Regions from separate parts of the Homo sapiens genome. Here regions 1, 3, 4 and 5 are each linked to region 2. The links are contacts of gene promoters, found by promoter capture Hi-C in blood cells and fetal thymus (Javierre and others, 2016). All regions are on one chromosome and are shown on one strand. The core of a region is centred on a gene start or on the middle of the fragment in contact, and the rest is flanking DNA. Distances in the headings are between cores, read along the strand shown.

What was found. The method cuts DNA at HindIII sites, captures the fragments that hold promoters and counts their contacts. A CHiCAGO score of 5 or more calls a contact.
Region 1: a contact is called between a fragment that was not itself captured here and the fragment with the promoter of NRBF2 in region 2, in 1 of 17 cell types (neutrophils). The highest score is 6.5, in neutrophils.
Region 3: a fragment that was not itself captured here is called in contact with the fragment with the promoter of NRBF2 in region 2 in 3 of 17 cell types (total CD8 T cells, naive CD8 T cells and naive CD4 T cells); the score reaches 7.2 in total CD8 T cells.
Region 4: a fragment that was not itself captured here is called in contact with the fragment with the promoter of NRBF2 in region 2 in 2 of 17 cell types (M1 macrophages and activated CD4 T cells); the score reaches 5.4 in M1 macrophages.
Region 5: a fragment that was not itself captured here is called in contact with the fragment with the promoter of NRBF2 in region 2 in 1 of 17 cell types (naive CD8 T cells); the score reaches 6.1 in naive CD8 T cells.

Annotation. Positions count from the first base shown.
Region 1 is chr10:62,616,215-62,618,914 of GRCh38, reverse strand. No RefSeq gene overlaps it. Among named protein-coding and RNA genes, the nearest start is that of ADO, 190 kb to the left of the region's middle. The HindIII fragment of the contact is 2,782 bases long and covers 1-2,700 here.
Region 2 is chr10:63,132,004-63,134,703 of GRCh38, reverse strand. It overlaps NRBF2 (nuclear receptor binding factor 2), which reads right to left and starts at 1,376. Exons shown (of 4, transcript NM_030759.5): 1 at 1,204-1,376. The coding sequence starts at 1,233. RefSeq lists silencers at 830-1,099, 1,310-1,559. The HindIII fragment of the contact is 9,214 bases long and covers 1-2,700 here.
Region 3 is chr10:62,599,155-62,601,854 of GRCh38, reverse strand. No RefSeq gene overlaps it. Among named protein-coding and RNA genes, the nearest start is that of ADO, 200 kb to the left of the region's middle. The HindIII fragment of the contact is 184 bases long and covers 1,357-1,540 here.
Region 4 is chr10:62,580,446-62,583,145 of GRCh38, reverse strand. No RefSeq gene overlaps it. Among named protein-coding and RNA genes, the nearest start is that of ZNF365, 210 kb to the right of the region's middle. The HindIII fragment of the contact is 3,790 bases long and covers 1-2,700 here.
Region 5 is chr10:63,659,210-63,661,909 of GRCh38, reverse strand. The region is part of intron 2 of LOC107984238 (a long non-coding RNA gene); the gene reads left to right. Among named protein-coding and RNA genes, the nearest start is that of REEP3, 140 kb to the right of the region's middle. The HindIII fragment of the contact is 196 bases long and covers 1,198-1,393 here.

The DNA.
Region 1 (2,700 bases), core at 83-2,582, 520 kb after region 2:
GGTGACACCCCATTTTTTCAGCATGGAATTTTACTTAGCCACACTGGGAAAGCTGAGTGGCTTCCCTGGGGTTTTGCTCTCCTTACTGCAGGATTATATCATGCAGAAGAGTCTGGAGCATGGGTTCTGAAAAGGCTCCATGTGGCCCCCAGGCACCGCCAGCTTGGAGTCTAGATCCGGAGACTCACAGTCTGGGAAACGTACACAACAGCATCTCAGACAATGATGCCCCAGGCTCACAGGAACGAATGAAAGCAGTGCTGCTCATGTATGTGTGTATTGGGGGGGATGAGAATAATTGAACTTCTAGTTCAGATTGCCTATTAATTTAAGATTTGCTTCTCTTTGAATCAAACTTAAGTTTATAACTTGAACTAGTCCATTCATTTACCACGTGGTGTTCTGTCCCAGGGCACACAGAAATGCCCCCAGGGCACACTGGTGGATCTTCGGGTATTGTTTGAAGCAGGTTCCGAAGGCCGTCCTTGTTACTGGGACTAGAATGGTTAAGAAAACTCTCGTGCGACTTTGCTGCAAAAACAGACATTTCAGGGCTTCAAGCAGGAAGAGTTATGGTGCTATAAGATGAGGATCTCAGTTCCAAATGGACCCCAATCAGGAAGTGACTCCATCTGCCAAAAGGAGAAGCTCTAGCTTTCCAATCATTGCAGGGTGCAGGCAGTACAGTTAGCAAGAAGCCATGGGGCGTTCATCTTAGACAGAGAAGTCATTTCTGGGTTAAATAATAGACTAGCAGCCAGTGTGTTTTGGAACATATTTGAAAAATCATTTAAGCCTCAAATCCTACTGATAAGCACATGGCACCTAAGAGCAAACACATTAGCAGAGACTGAGTCTAATGACTTCAAATAGGAAGGAGGATCCTAAAACAAGGACAACATCCGTGCGAGTCCAACAGCACCGGGAATAGCACTGTGGGATACAGGAAAGAGTCTGCAAGGACAGCCACGCTGGGCCGTGGCAACGTCTGTTCATAACACTGCCTGGTGGTCACTGGCAGGCCACAGAGGAGCACCTATGAGTTTGTATCAGAACCCACAAGCTGTCAGCTGTCACTGCCCTCCTCTCTAAGCTCTTCTCTGCTCTCCACCAATTCAAACTCTGTCTGCACTAAAGTATTAAGAAATACTATGTGTGTTGCAGGGCGGGGCGGGGGTGGGGGTGGGGGGGCTGGTTATTGATAGTCCTGCAGGGAAGCTGGGTGAGGAAGTTCTTATCATACAATACTTGAAACCGGGTAAAGTGTGTTGAACACACTTCTTCTCCTCCCAAGCCCTTTTCTGAGGGCCTTCAGTGAGGCCTTCTTTTCCTGTGATTCTTCCCCAAACAGACCTCAGCCCAATTCTCACCTTCTCCTTTCTTCCTCTCTCCTGGATGTTTTCTTCCTGTGACACCCAAATCCTCCTTCTCTTATCTGAAGAGTGGTTTCCTACTACCTTCTGGAACTGGGGCACCTGCTGGCACCCAGCCCAGGAGGCTCCCTTCCACCCCAGTGGCAGGCTTATCAAAGTGCATCTCAGTCCCAGCAGCTCTCTTGCTAAGAGGGGCTTCCTCATGCCCTGCAAAGATTAATTCACTCAGCACATACTTGGGGCCTACTTTGTGCCAGGATCCTCTTCTGGTGAACAAAACAGATAACAATCACAGCTTTTGGAGCTTCCATTCTCATGGAGGAAATCAAGGTTTATCTAATACATACACATTGCCAAATGATGTGTGTGTGTGTGTGTGTGTGTGTGTGTGTGAATCAGCAGACAAATCTAGATAATTCTCACTCCAACATGTGGGTTCTGTCATTGTCAATCAATCCTTCTGGCATTTTCGACATCTAATTGCTCTTCTCCTGTAAGGAGATGGGTGGATAGAGAGCAGCTCAGCTGGGGGTAATTCCTACAAGGGTTTTACAAAGCATGCTACCTCAGGGCCTCTCACAGATGCGGTCTTTAGAACAGTATGGCCTAGATGGGCATGGCAGAGCAGGGCTGAGTGGCCAAGGGGGAAGAGGATATTATGGGGGAGCCAGGAAATCAGAACGAGCAAAGCAAGGAGTGGTGGAACTGCATATGAGAAGTAGTACAAGAAAATACTGGAGGCTAGCCGGGCGTGGTGGCTCATGCCTGTAATCCCAGCACTTTGGGAGGCCGCAGTGGGCAGATCACTTGAGGTCAGGAGTTCGAGATCACCCTGGCCAACATGGCAAAATCATGCCTCTACTAAAAATACAAAAATTAGCCGGGCATGGTGGTGCAGGCCTGTAATCCCAGCTACTAGGGAGGCTGAGGCAGGAGAATCACTTGAACCCAGGAGGCGGAGGTTGCAGTGAGCCGAGATCACCCCACTGGCCTCTAGCTTGGGTGACAAAGTGAAGGAAGGAAGGAAGGAAGGAAGGAAGGAAGGAAGGAAGGAAGGAAGGAAGGCGAAGGAAGGAAATACTGGAGGCAGAAAGGAGGTGGCTTTGTAGGTGCCTGAGGTTGAGCCAGATTCCTTTAAGGAAATGATTCTAGATACACACTCCACACCTGAAATATCCTTTCCCTTCTTCCTCTCCACTTAGCCCTTCAAATCCTCCTCTTTGCACAAGCCCCACAAAGACAGGGATCTTGTCAGTCTTGCTCAGAACAATTCTTTGCAAATAGTAGGTATTAATTATTGGTGGAGCAAATGATGGGTTCAGATGAA
Region 2 (2,700 bases), core at 127-2,626:
TTATGGTCTGGTTATAATCGCTAACTCTTACACTGTACTATGTACTTAGTACAGTTCTAAGTGCTTTACACCTATTTACTCCTTTAATCCTCCCAAAAAACCTGAAGCCGAGTGAAGCCAAGTAGTTTGCCCAAGGTAACACAGATATCAAGTGACGAGGTTAGAATTCAAATCCAAGCAGCATAGCTTCAAAACCTAGAGTCTTAAACCACCTGACTCTACTGCTCTTCTAGGACTCAGAGTTCTAATGTGAGAAAAGAATCCTCTATAGAGCTTTCTTTCAATTCCACCATCGCAAATGAATTGCAAACCTGTGACTCAAAAGTTCTTCCTGTGTGCAACCTTAAGTAATCTGACTTTTACATCCAAAATGGGTAACCTCTCTGGAAAACTAAAAGATGCAATGGCCAGTCTGAAAAGAACTCATGCTTCCCGTTGTTAGTGGGGTTCTGTTGTGTTGTTTTTTAATTGCAACACCTGAAACGCCTTAAAACACAAGTAAACAGGCTATCAGCCATTTTCCTGAGAACAGCAAACACCTATTACACTTTCATGATGCCTAAATTGATGAATCTGAGCTAAATACAGGAACGGCTGTCTTTTTCCCAGCTGTCTCTAATATATTTGGAAGACGGTAGACTCAGTTTATGCATGTGAATGTATGTGAGAAATGAGGGGGAAGTGGAGGGTGAGGAGGGGGAAGTGGAGGGTGAGGAGGGGGAAGTGAAGGGTGAGGAGGGGGAAGTGGAGGGTGAGGAGGCTATTCACTCCTCCACCTCTCCAAAGCGGGGCGACTCAGACTCAGACCCTGCTGCTAGAACTTAAAACCAGTATCACACCATTTCTGCCTTGGCCGGCTTCAGTGCCTCTCCAGGCTGTAGGGAGGTGGCTACGTGGCGCTAAGAGGACTTCCCCCAGCCAGAGAGGAGGTGGCAGCCCCAGGTGGTGGCATCCCCTCGCCCGGGGCCCCGCGACAGGGGGCGCCAGGACTTCCCGGGGATCCCCCAGGAGGGCAAAGTCTGAAGTGGCTAGCCTGGAGCCGCAGTTGGGCCAGGGCCTGCCTAGCAGCCCCTCACAGCCTCTGCGACCACTCCTGCCAAACCAACCTCCCAGCCTAAAGGGTTAGCCGACGCGCCGGGGACGGGGCCGGGCTCCTGAGGCAAAGGCACCCAAGACGAACGCTATATTCTGTGGGACACTCACCAGGTTGAGGGGTCCTTCCATTACTTCCATAGACCCCGGGGTAAGCGGCGGCCTTAGGAAGGGGAGTAGTGGCGCCGGGGAACATGGAGGGGACTGCAAGGGAGCTCGACGCAGCCGCGGAGACTGCGGCCCCTCTCTGCGCCCCAAGAGCCAGCGATAGGCGCTGAAGGAGCAACAACCTCACCACTTCCTCCTCCGGCGCCGCGCCGCGGGCCCGCCCCCTGCGCCACCGCCGAGGCCACGCACGGCGCCATGACGTCACACGCGCAAAAGGCTGGTTCAAGGTGGGAATGAGGACAGGCAGTGGGTGGGGCCCAGGGAAGGCGGGGCACCAGCTGATGTACGCTTGCGAGCGGTCAATCTTTCCTCTCGCGAGAAGCGTTAGTTTAGGTTCTTAAAGTCTACACTGAAGTCACGTGAGGAGGTACAGCCTTGCTGTTGAAGACTTGAAATGGCTGTCTTCTGCAATTAGCTTCTCACGTTTCCTTTTAGACTGACTTTTCCTTAAATCTGCTAATCGTTACACCGTTACTTGTGGTCCTGTCCACACCTTTATCATTGTACATGATTCATTTTTTCAAAAGGCCGATTTGAGCAATTCTAGACCATGCACTGGACTAACCCCCCTAGAGGTCAGCACACTCGAATGATTTAGGGCTCTGCCCTCAAGTTGCTCACAAACTGATAGGGAAACAATTTTGGTCTAGCCAAATATAATACTGCATTCATTTAACAATTATGTGCCAAACAAAAGCTAGGTTCGTTCTGTCATGGAATTCACTGACAAATAGTTGTGATTTATGCTGGAAAGGGAACACATAGGGAGCTGTGATAGAGTAACCAAGGTGGAGTTGGGTGGTAAAGGAAAGCCTTTCATGGGGGGCGTGATTTTTTTTGAGAAAGTGTCTTGCTGACGCAATCTCCACTCACTGCAACCTCCCTCTGCCCGCCCCCTGCCCCAGGCGATCCTCACACCTCAGTCTCTTAAGTAGCTAGGAACTACAAGTGCTCAGGCCAGGTTAATTTTTGTATTTTTTGTAGAGATGGGGTTTCGCCATGTTGCCTATGCTGATCTTGAACTGCTGAGCTCAAGTGAGCTCAATGATCCGCCCTCCTGGACCTCACAAACTGATGGGATTATAGGCATGAGCTACCGCACCTGGCTAAGGGCGTAATCTTTAAGATTAAACCTTAAAATGCCAGTTAAACAAAGACCCTTCTCGACAAAGGAAATGTCTTATGCCTCAACTCTAAAGGCGGGGAGGTCGGGTGGCGGGAGCTGCAGCATTTCAGAGAGATGCAAAAGAAGATACCAGAGAGATAGGAAACTTCCAAAACATAGGTGTCCTTGCAGTGCACAATGAAACATTTGAATTTTACTCAAAGTGCATTGGGAAATAAGTAAAGGATATTAAGCTAGAGAATAATCTGCTTTAATTTACAGTTTTGAAAAGATTAATTTCCCTGTAATGTGAAGAATAGATTGTGGAAGGCCTA
Region 3 (2,700 bases), core at 199-2,698, 530 kb after region 2:
AAGGATTCTGAGACAATTTAATGGAGAAAGAAGTCTTTTCAACAGATGATGCTGGGATAACTATATACCCACATGAAAACAAACAAAGTTGGAGCCCTACCTTATACAATATGTAGAAATAAACTTAAAATGTATCGTAGACCTAAATATAATAGCTGAAACTATAAAACTCTTATAAGAAAACATAAAAGCAAATCTTTGTGACCTTGCATTAGGTAATGGTTTCTAAAAGTAATAATGACAAAAGAAAAAGATAAATATTGCATTTCATCAAAATTAAAACAACCAGAGAGTGAAAGAAAATGTTTACAAATTAAGAGACTTGATAAGATACTTTTATCCAGAGATGTGAAGTCTCATAACTCAACAATTGCTATGGTTTGAGTGTGTCCCTTCCTAAATTCTTGTTGACACTTATTCCTGTTGTAGTGATATGAAGAGACAGGGCTTTTACAAAGTGATCAGGTCAAGAGGGTTCTGCCCATATGAATGGATTAGTGCCTTACAGAAGGGCTTGAGAAGGCAAATTTGTTTCTTCTGCTCTTCTGCCATGTGAGAACACAGTGTTTGTCCCCTTTTGTCTTTCCATCCTTTTTACTGTGTTAATGGCATCTTTCTACCTAGATGGTGCCATCTATGAGGAATGGGCCCTCACCAGGCACCAAACCTGCTGGCACCTTGATCTTGGACTTCCCAGCCTCCAGAACTGTGAGAAGTAAATTTCTGTTCTTTATAAATTACCCAGTCTTATGTATTTTGTTATAGTAGCACTAATAGACTGAGACAACAGTAAAAAGAAAAATAACTGAATTCAAAAATGAACAACAGACTTGAATAGAAATTATTTCCAAAGAAGATAAAAAGTAGGTAATCAGCATATGAAAGATGCTGAACATCATTAGCCTTAAGAGAAATGTATTTCAAAACCACAATGAAATACTACTTCATATCCACTTGGGTGGCTAAAGTCAAAAAGATAATAACAAGTGTTGGTAAGAGTGTGGAGATTCTGGCATCCTCATACATTGCTGGCAAGATTAGAAAATGATGCAACCACTTTTGAAAACAGTTTGGCAGCTCCTCAAAATGTTAAAATAGAGTTGCCATATGACCCAGCAATTCCATTCCTTGAACTATGACATGAGGCAATAAATAAACTCTTACCGTCCTTAGCCATTGAGATTTGGGAGTTGTTTGTTACAACTCTTAACTTACCCTAACCAATACAACAATAATGAAAATTATCTCAGGATTTCTGAAAATTTTCTTAAGAACCATTTATCATTTTTAATTGACAAAGTTAGCCTTATAGAGGTTGAAATATTATCGATAGTCTTTAAGGATACACATTAAGCTTGGAAATCTTATATTCAAAAATATTCAAATTTGTCTGCAAAGCAGTTGGATAAAAGTCACAAATGATTTCAGTGTCTGTAGTAGCAATGTGTAAATATAAAAATGTTTCAATGTTTTTATAACATCAATTTCCACATCAGCTGGAAGAACTTCAAATGTGCTATTCATGTGATTTTTGCAAGCTTATGCCTTTGGCACCCATCCTCATTAATTTTATATGGCAGTTATTTGGTAATTTCCATAAAATATTCTTAGAAGGCATATGTTTTTCATTTCCAAAGTTTGTATTAATAATGTAATATGACCATACCAATAATCTTATCAACAGATATCCTATTGCTCATAATAGAAAAAAAACCCCACAAAACAACCATTAACCTGGCAGGATGTCAAGGTCAATAACTTTCACATTAAATTTAGTGTTAAACTTTTTAAAAAACAGCTTTGTTGAAGTATGACTTACATACCATCAAATTCACTTATTACAAGTGAGCAATTCAATGGTTTTTAATAAATTTGCAGAGTTGTTCGCCCATCTCCACCATCCAGTTTTAGAACATTTCCATCACCCAAAACAAATCCTTTGCTTCTATCTGCAGTCACCCTCCCCTCTTTCTCCCAGCCCCAGGCAACCACTAATCTACTTTCTGTGTGCATAAATTTGCGTTTTCTAAACATTTTATATAAATGGAATTATATAATATATAGCCTATTGCATCTGCTTTTTCTTTACTTAGCACAGTGTCTTTGAGTTTCCTCCATGTTGTAGCATGTCACAGTGTCAATTCCTTTTTATTACTGGGTAGTGTTTCATTGTGTGGATGCACCAGAGTTTATTTATTCACTTGTCAGTTGATGAGCTTTGGCTTATTTCCAGCTTTTGGTGATTATGAACAAAGCCTCTATAAACCTTTATATAGAGCTTTTGTTCAAACATAAGTTTTCAGTACCTGCCTAGAAGTGGGATATTTGGGTCAAACCATAAGCATATGTTTAACTTTATTTTTGAAACTGCTGAACTGTTTTTCAGATTGGCCATACCAGCAAAAGCTGTGAGAGTTCAGTTGTTCTGCATCCTCAACAGCACTTGGTATTTTCAGGGACTGCTAAAACCTGTTTTATTAGGTATGTGGTGGTATCCCACCACACTGTGGTTTTAATTTTCATTTCCCTAATGAGTAAATGTGTTCAGTCTCTTTTCATTTGCTCGTTTGCCATATGCATATTTTTGGTGAAAGATCTATTTAAAACTTTTGTCTATTTTTTAATCGAGTTGTCTTTGTCTTATTTATTGTAAAAGTTCTTTGTAAATTCTGCCACAAGTACCTTATCAGCATGTTATTT
Region 4 (2,700 bases), core at 72-2,571, 550 kb after region 2:
TTATGGACTTAACTCCTGACACATTTGGCACAAGTTGAAAAATAAAAGAAAAAAAAACCACCCACTGTCTCAAGAGGCCTTGGGCAGGAACATACAAGGCAAAACGTTTTAGTTGTAGACAAGAAAATGCTGGAGAGTCAGCAGGGGATGAGCTGGTCAGGAAATATCCACTTCCTGTGGACACTCCCAAGTTCTCCCGCGCTGGCCAACCCCCGTTGCAGATGATCCAGCCAACAAAACACTCCACCAAAGTAGCACTGTTGGCTCAGCCAACTCGAGTCAGCTGCGCCGATGACCCCACATGCCCAAGTGGAACCTTCTGGGTTCCTTCCTGAGGGATGTTCAAATAAACCAACAAGAAAGATTTGGATAGGAAATGTGGAGTTCTGGAGGCTAGGGTGGGCAGATGTGTAAGGCTGAGGCTAAAGATGAATTTCCTGACCCTCTCAGGCACACAAACAAGGAATTCAAGTTGACTTTACTCTGAAGAAATGGCTTAAAAGAAATGTTTTTTAACTAACGGTGGGTATTTTTCAATATATGGTTGAAGAATACGGTGACTCATCTCCATTCAGATGAAAACCTACCCCTGAAGTTTGCTGCATTAAATGGGAATTAGTATGCTAAGTCCATAAACCACAACCACCATTTTCAGTGTAAATCAGACTTGTCTCTTAAATTAAAAAAAAAAAGCAATTGCAGCAAGGAGTCATGATGAGATGCCTTGCCTTCAGTGGAAAGGGAAGTATGTTTTCTCTGGCCAGCCTACACAAAATCAGATACTTAATATGATTACTGAGAAGATGGAAAGATTTTCAGGAAAGACTCCTATTGCTCAGCTCCTACCAGCCTGCAAAGGAGTAAGTAGGAAGTCAAAAGGACCAGCCCACTAAAAGAAGGCTGAAAACAGGATCTCTGATTCCACTGAGCAGTTCTGTGAAAGCAGAACATACGAATGGATGGGTTAGGCTGGCAAGAAGTTCCATCAACCAACTAAGCAACCTACTTATTTTTAAGCACCTACTACAGGAGCGTGCTCAAAGGTAGGGTTGCTGCTCTCAAGAAGGGGTTGCATTTTGAGCCTTTGGCAAACCAAGAAAACAAGAAATGCTACAAGCATTTCCAACAGAAATTAGTTACAGAGGTGATAGAAGAGCTGAGATGCCAAGGAAGGACAATCCAATGACCCGGAGATGAGCACCAGCAGGAGGCCCTCCATAGCTCCTAGGTTGAAAGCAGCATTTCCAGAGGCACTGAGGCTGGGGTGAGGAGGCAGAGGTGGAACCAAGGTGGGTCTGATCTGTGGAATCTGGAGCTATGGAGGAGACCCAGCTGTTGCTGGAGAATGAGTTTGAGGCAGAGAATGAGAGGGAGAAACACCCAAACTTACCCTCACTCCCCACTGCCAATGCCTCACCAGTGCCTGTTGTTGACTGCACCAGGCAGAAGCCATCTCACACAGGAACCTGGGGAAGGCAGCCTGCAGGGGTCAGCCCCACAGCAAGGCAGAGCAGAGGAAGGGCAAGGAATAGATATGAGGGCGAGTAGGCCCAGGCCTGGCATGGTGAATGCATTTGGATCATTTTTTACCTTCACAACAATGACCTCACCTCGCCCTGGGCCAGACCATGACAAATCAATTGCAAGCCACAAATGCTGGCTGGGATGGACTCTAGGGTGAACCTCTGCCTCATCTTCTCGCCAGTTATTTAACTCAATTTGGGCTTAGCTCAAGACCCTAAGGAGGTCCCTTAATTCTCTCAGGAGTGAAGGAACTATTTGTAGCCTGATATACATACTGTCTTTTCACAGAAGTCTTGGAACTGACTGTCCTCACTCTTGTTCCCCATGGAGAATTCCAGGATCTAACTGGCCCCATGGCTACATAAGCAAAATCCTGCCTGGCTTTGATTTCATCTATGGCCGGCTCTGCCAAAACCAGCTCCACAAAGACGATGGATGCTCCAGGATGCCTAAATTGATGCTTTCAGGGCCCTAGTGACTAGCCAATGGCATCCCTCTAGCCTGAATATTTCTGAGTTAATGTCCCAAGCCCATGTTGCTAAATTCAACCTTATCAATATTACCAGTGCAGAGGCTCTAGTGTTCCGTACAAGCTGGATAGCCTCAGAATTACTTAACCTCTTCAAATCCCCGTCTCCTCATCTGCACAATTGCAGCAAATACAGGTCTGTTGTGTGGATTAAATGAGACTATGTCTGTTAACATACTTATTCTGGTGCCTGGCACACAAGCAGTGCTCAATAAATGACACAGTTAACTCTTTATCAGTGAGGTTTCCTCTAGTGGCAAGTGACAGAAGCCAGTTCAACTTAACTTAAGCAAAAAAGGCCCAGCATCTGGGCCAGGAGCTCATCCATGGTCTTCACTATGGGTTCTCTCTAATCACTTGGCTCTGTAGTCTTGGCTCTGTAGTCTCTGATTGGTTTCATTTTCAGGCAGACCATCCCCATGAGATGGCAAGATGAATGGTGAGACATCTTCCCAGCTGAGCAACCACAGGAGAAAGAGATCCCAAGAGTTTTCTGAAGATCCTGGAATGGGGCTTCATTGCCTGTTTGCATCACACTTCCAGCCCTGAATTAGTCACTGTGGCCAGGGGATGGAATGCTCTAGTTGGTCAGGACTGGGTTTGGGGTCCATGTAGGTTAAGAGTAAGGGAATGTCAAGTCTCCAAAT
Region 5 (2,700 bases), core at 46-2,545, 530 kb before region 2:
TGGATTCAAGTGACTCTCCTGCCTCAGCCTCCCAAGTAGCTGGGATTGCAGGCATGCGCCACCATGTCCAGCTAATTTTGTATTTTTAGTAGAGACAGGGTTTGTCCATGTTGGTCAGGCTGGTCTCGAACTCCCAACCTCAGGTGATCTGCCCGTCTCAGCCTCCCAAAGTGCTGGGATTACAGGCATGAGCCACTGTGCCCGGCATGCCCAGCTATTATTTGTAATTTTTTTTTATTTTTTATTTATTTATTAGTAGAGATGGGGTTTCACCATATTGGCCAGGCTGGTCTCGAAATCCTGACCTCATGATCCGCCTGCATCAGCCTCCCAAAGTGCTGGCATTACAGGTGTGAGTCACCACGCCCGGCCTCTTCTTGATGTTTTAATCCTTCCTGAGTTTGGTCAGCTCACTCTTAAGTTATTCTAATTCTAATCTGTGTAATTATTTCACATATTTTAATTTTTTCCTGAATTTAAAAAGTCATTTTGAAATATTCACTCACCTCTTTTACCTGCTTTGTGGGCATGTTTATTTGGTGTGCTCTCATCTGTAAGAAAATTACTTTGTTCCTCATTATCTTTTTATGATAAAAAGTTTGTACAGAATTCAAATCTATGTTTTTCTGTTGCTGATTTTTAGGTGAAGGCAGACTGAACTTTTAGGAAGGAAGGGTGGGTCAGAATAGCTTTTCTACCTCATGACTCTAGAGCAGTGTTAGCAAACCATGGCTCATGGACTAAATTCAGCTCATCATCTGCTTTTCTAAGTCTTATTGAAATACAATCCTGAGGGCCGGGCGTGGTGGGTCACGCCTGTAATTCCAGCACTTTGGGAGGCTGATGCGGGTGGATGACCTGAGGTCAGGAGTTCAAGACCAGCCTGGCCAACGTGGTGAAACCCCGTCTCTACAAAAATACAAAAACTAGCCAGGCGTGGTGGCACACGCCTGTAATCCCAGCTACTCAGGAGGCTGAGGCAGGAGAATTGTTTGGACTCAGGAGACAGAGGTTGCAGTAAGCCAAGATCACGCCACTACACTTCAGCCTAGGAGACAGAGCAAGACTCCGTCTCAAAGAAAAAAAAAAAAAAGAAATATAGTCGTGATTATTTGTTTACATATTATCTGTGGCCACTTTTATGATAAAATGGGAGAGTTGAGTCATTGTGACAAAGACCATGTAGGTCTCAAAGCTTAAAATACTTACTATGTGATCTCTGCTCTCTCTTCTTTGCTCACAATTTTGACTTCTTATCTCCTGGCTCTGTTCTTCTCCCTCACTTCTATCTGAATCTTTTTCCTTTGCCCCTCCCTGGGCTGTCTGTCCTGCTCAGTTTGGTCTACTCCCAGCAGTTCTTCCTCAATATGGAACTTTGTCTTGAAAGGAAGCTTCTGCTGGTTAATTTCTTTCTTTCTTTTTTTTTTTTTTTTTTGTTGTTGTTGTTCGTTTGTTTGTTTATTTTTTGAGACAGAGTCTCACTTTGTCGCCCAGGCTGGAGTACAGTGGCATGATCTCGGCTCACTGCAACCTCCATCTCCTGGGTTCAAGTGATTCTCTTGCTTCAGCCTCCCAAGTAGCTGGGATTACAGGTGCCCACCACCATACCCGGCTAGTTTTTGTATTTTTAGTAGAGGCAAGGTTTCACCATGTTGTCCAGGCTGGTCTTGAACTCCTGACCCCAAATGATCCGCCCACCTCGGCCTCCCAAAGTCCTAGGATTACAGGCCTGAACCACCACGCCGGGCCCTGCTGGTCAATTTCAAGAGTTCACAAGGCCAAGACTACTCCATCCCTTTCAGAACTTATCACTGTATTGTCCTTCTACTTACCCACAAATTGGAGTTTGTACAAACTCCTCTCAGGTTAAGCTGCTTTTCTCAAGTTGGCCAACTATGCTTTCCAGTGAGTATCTCTCTATCTAATGGTCATTTTGAGATTCTACTTTGCTTGGATCTGTCAGATGCCCAGTGCTTCCCATGTAAATGCTGATACTATACAGGTCTTATTACTGGTATTTTGTCCCTATCTGCTTATACTTCGGGGTTGATGGCAGTACTTTTTCACTTCGCTTGTTTTGAGTTTGTCAATAGGCTTTGGCTTAGCTATCCTAGTTTTATTTTTATGGGAGAGGGGTGTGGTTATGGGGCATTTAAGAACTAAAGAACTATTTCACTACTACTACCATCTTGCCAGAATTCCTAAGATTTGTATTTTAAACCCAGATGAAGTACTAACTAGCTGAAACCTAGATGAAAAGCTATGCAGGGAATGAATTAGATTGTCAATAATCTCTCCCAGCTCTAAAACATTATGATTCTAATTTTCACTCTTGCCAGTAACCAGTCTGTTCATCCCAGAAACTAGCATTTATTGAGCTTCTATTTTTTGCCAGTGCTGGGTTTAGGTTTTTGTTAATATAATGATGAACAATTCATATGCCTTGTTCTCAAGGAGTTCACAGTCCAGTGGAGGAAATAGATGTACACAGACAATTATAATGCAACATAATTTTGTGTGGTAGAGAGTAATGAAACATTTGTATGGGCATCTAGAGGTGAAAGTATCAAACTCTGCTTTATGGAGTATGACAAAGGCTTTGGAAAGGAGACAGTGCTTGAGATGAGTGCTGAAGGATAAAGGTCACCAAGTAGAGGAAATTGGCCTTTATTACCTTTTAAAAAGTATACAATAAATATA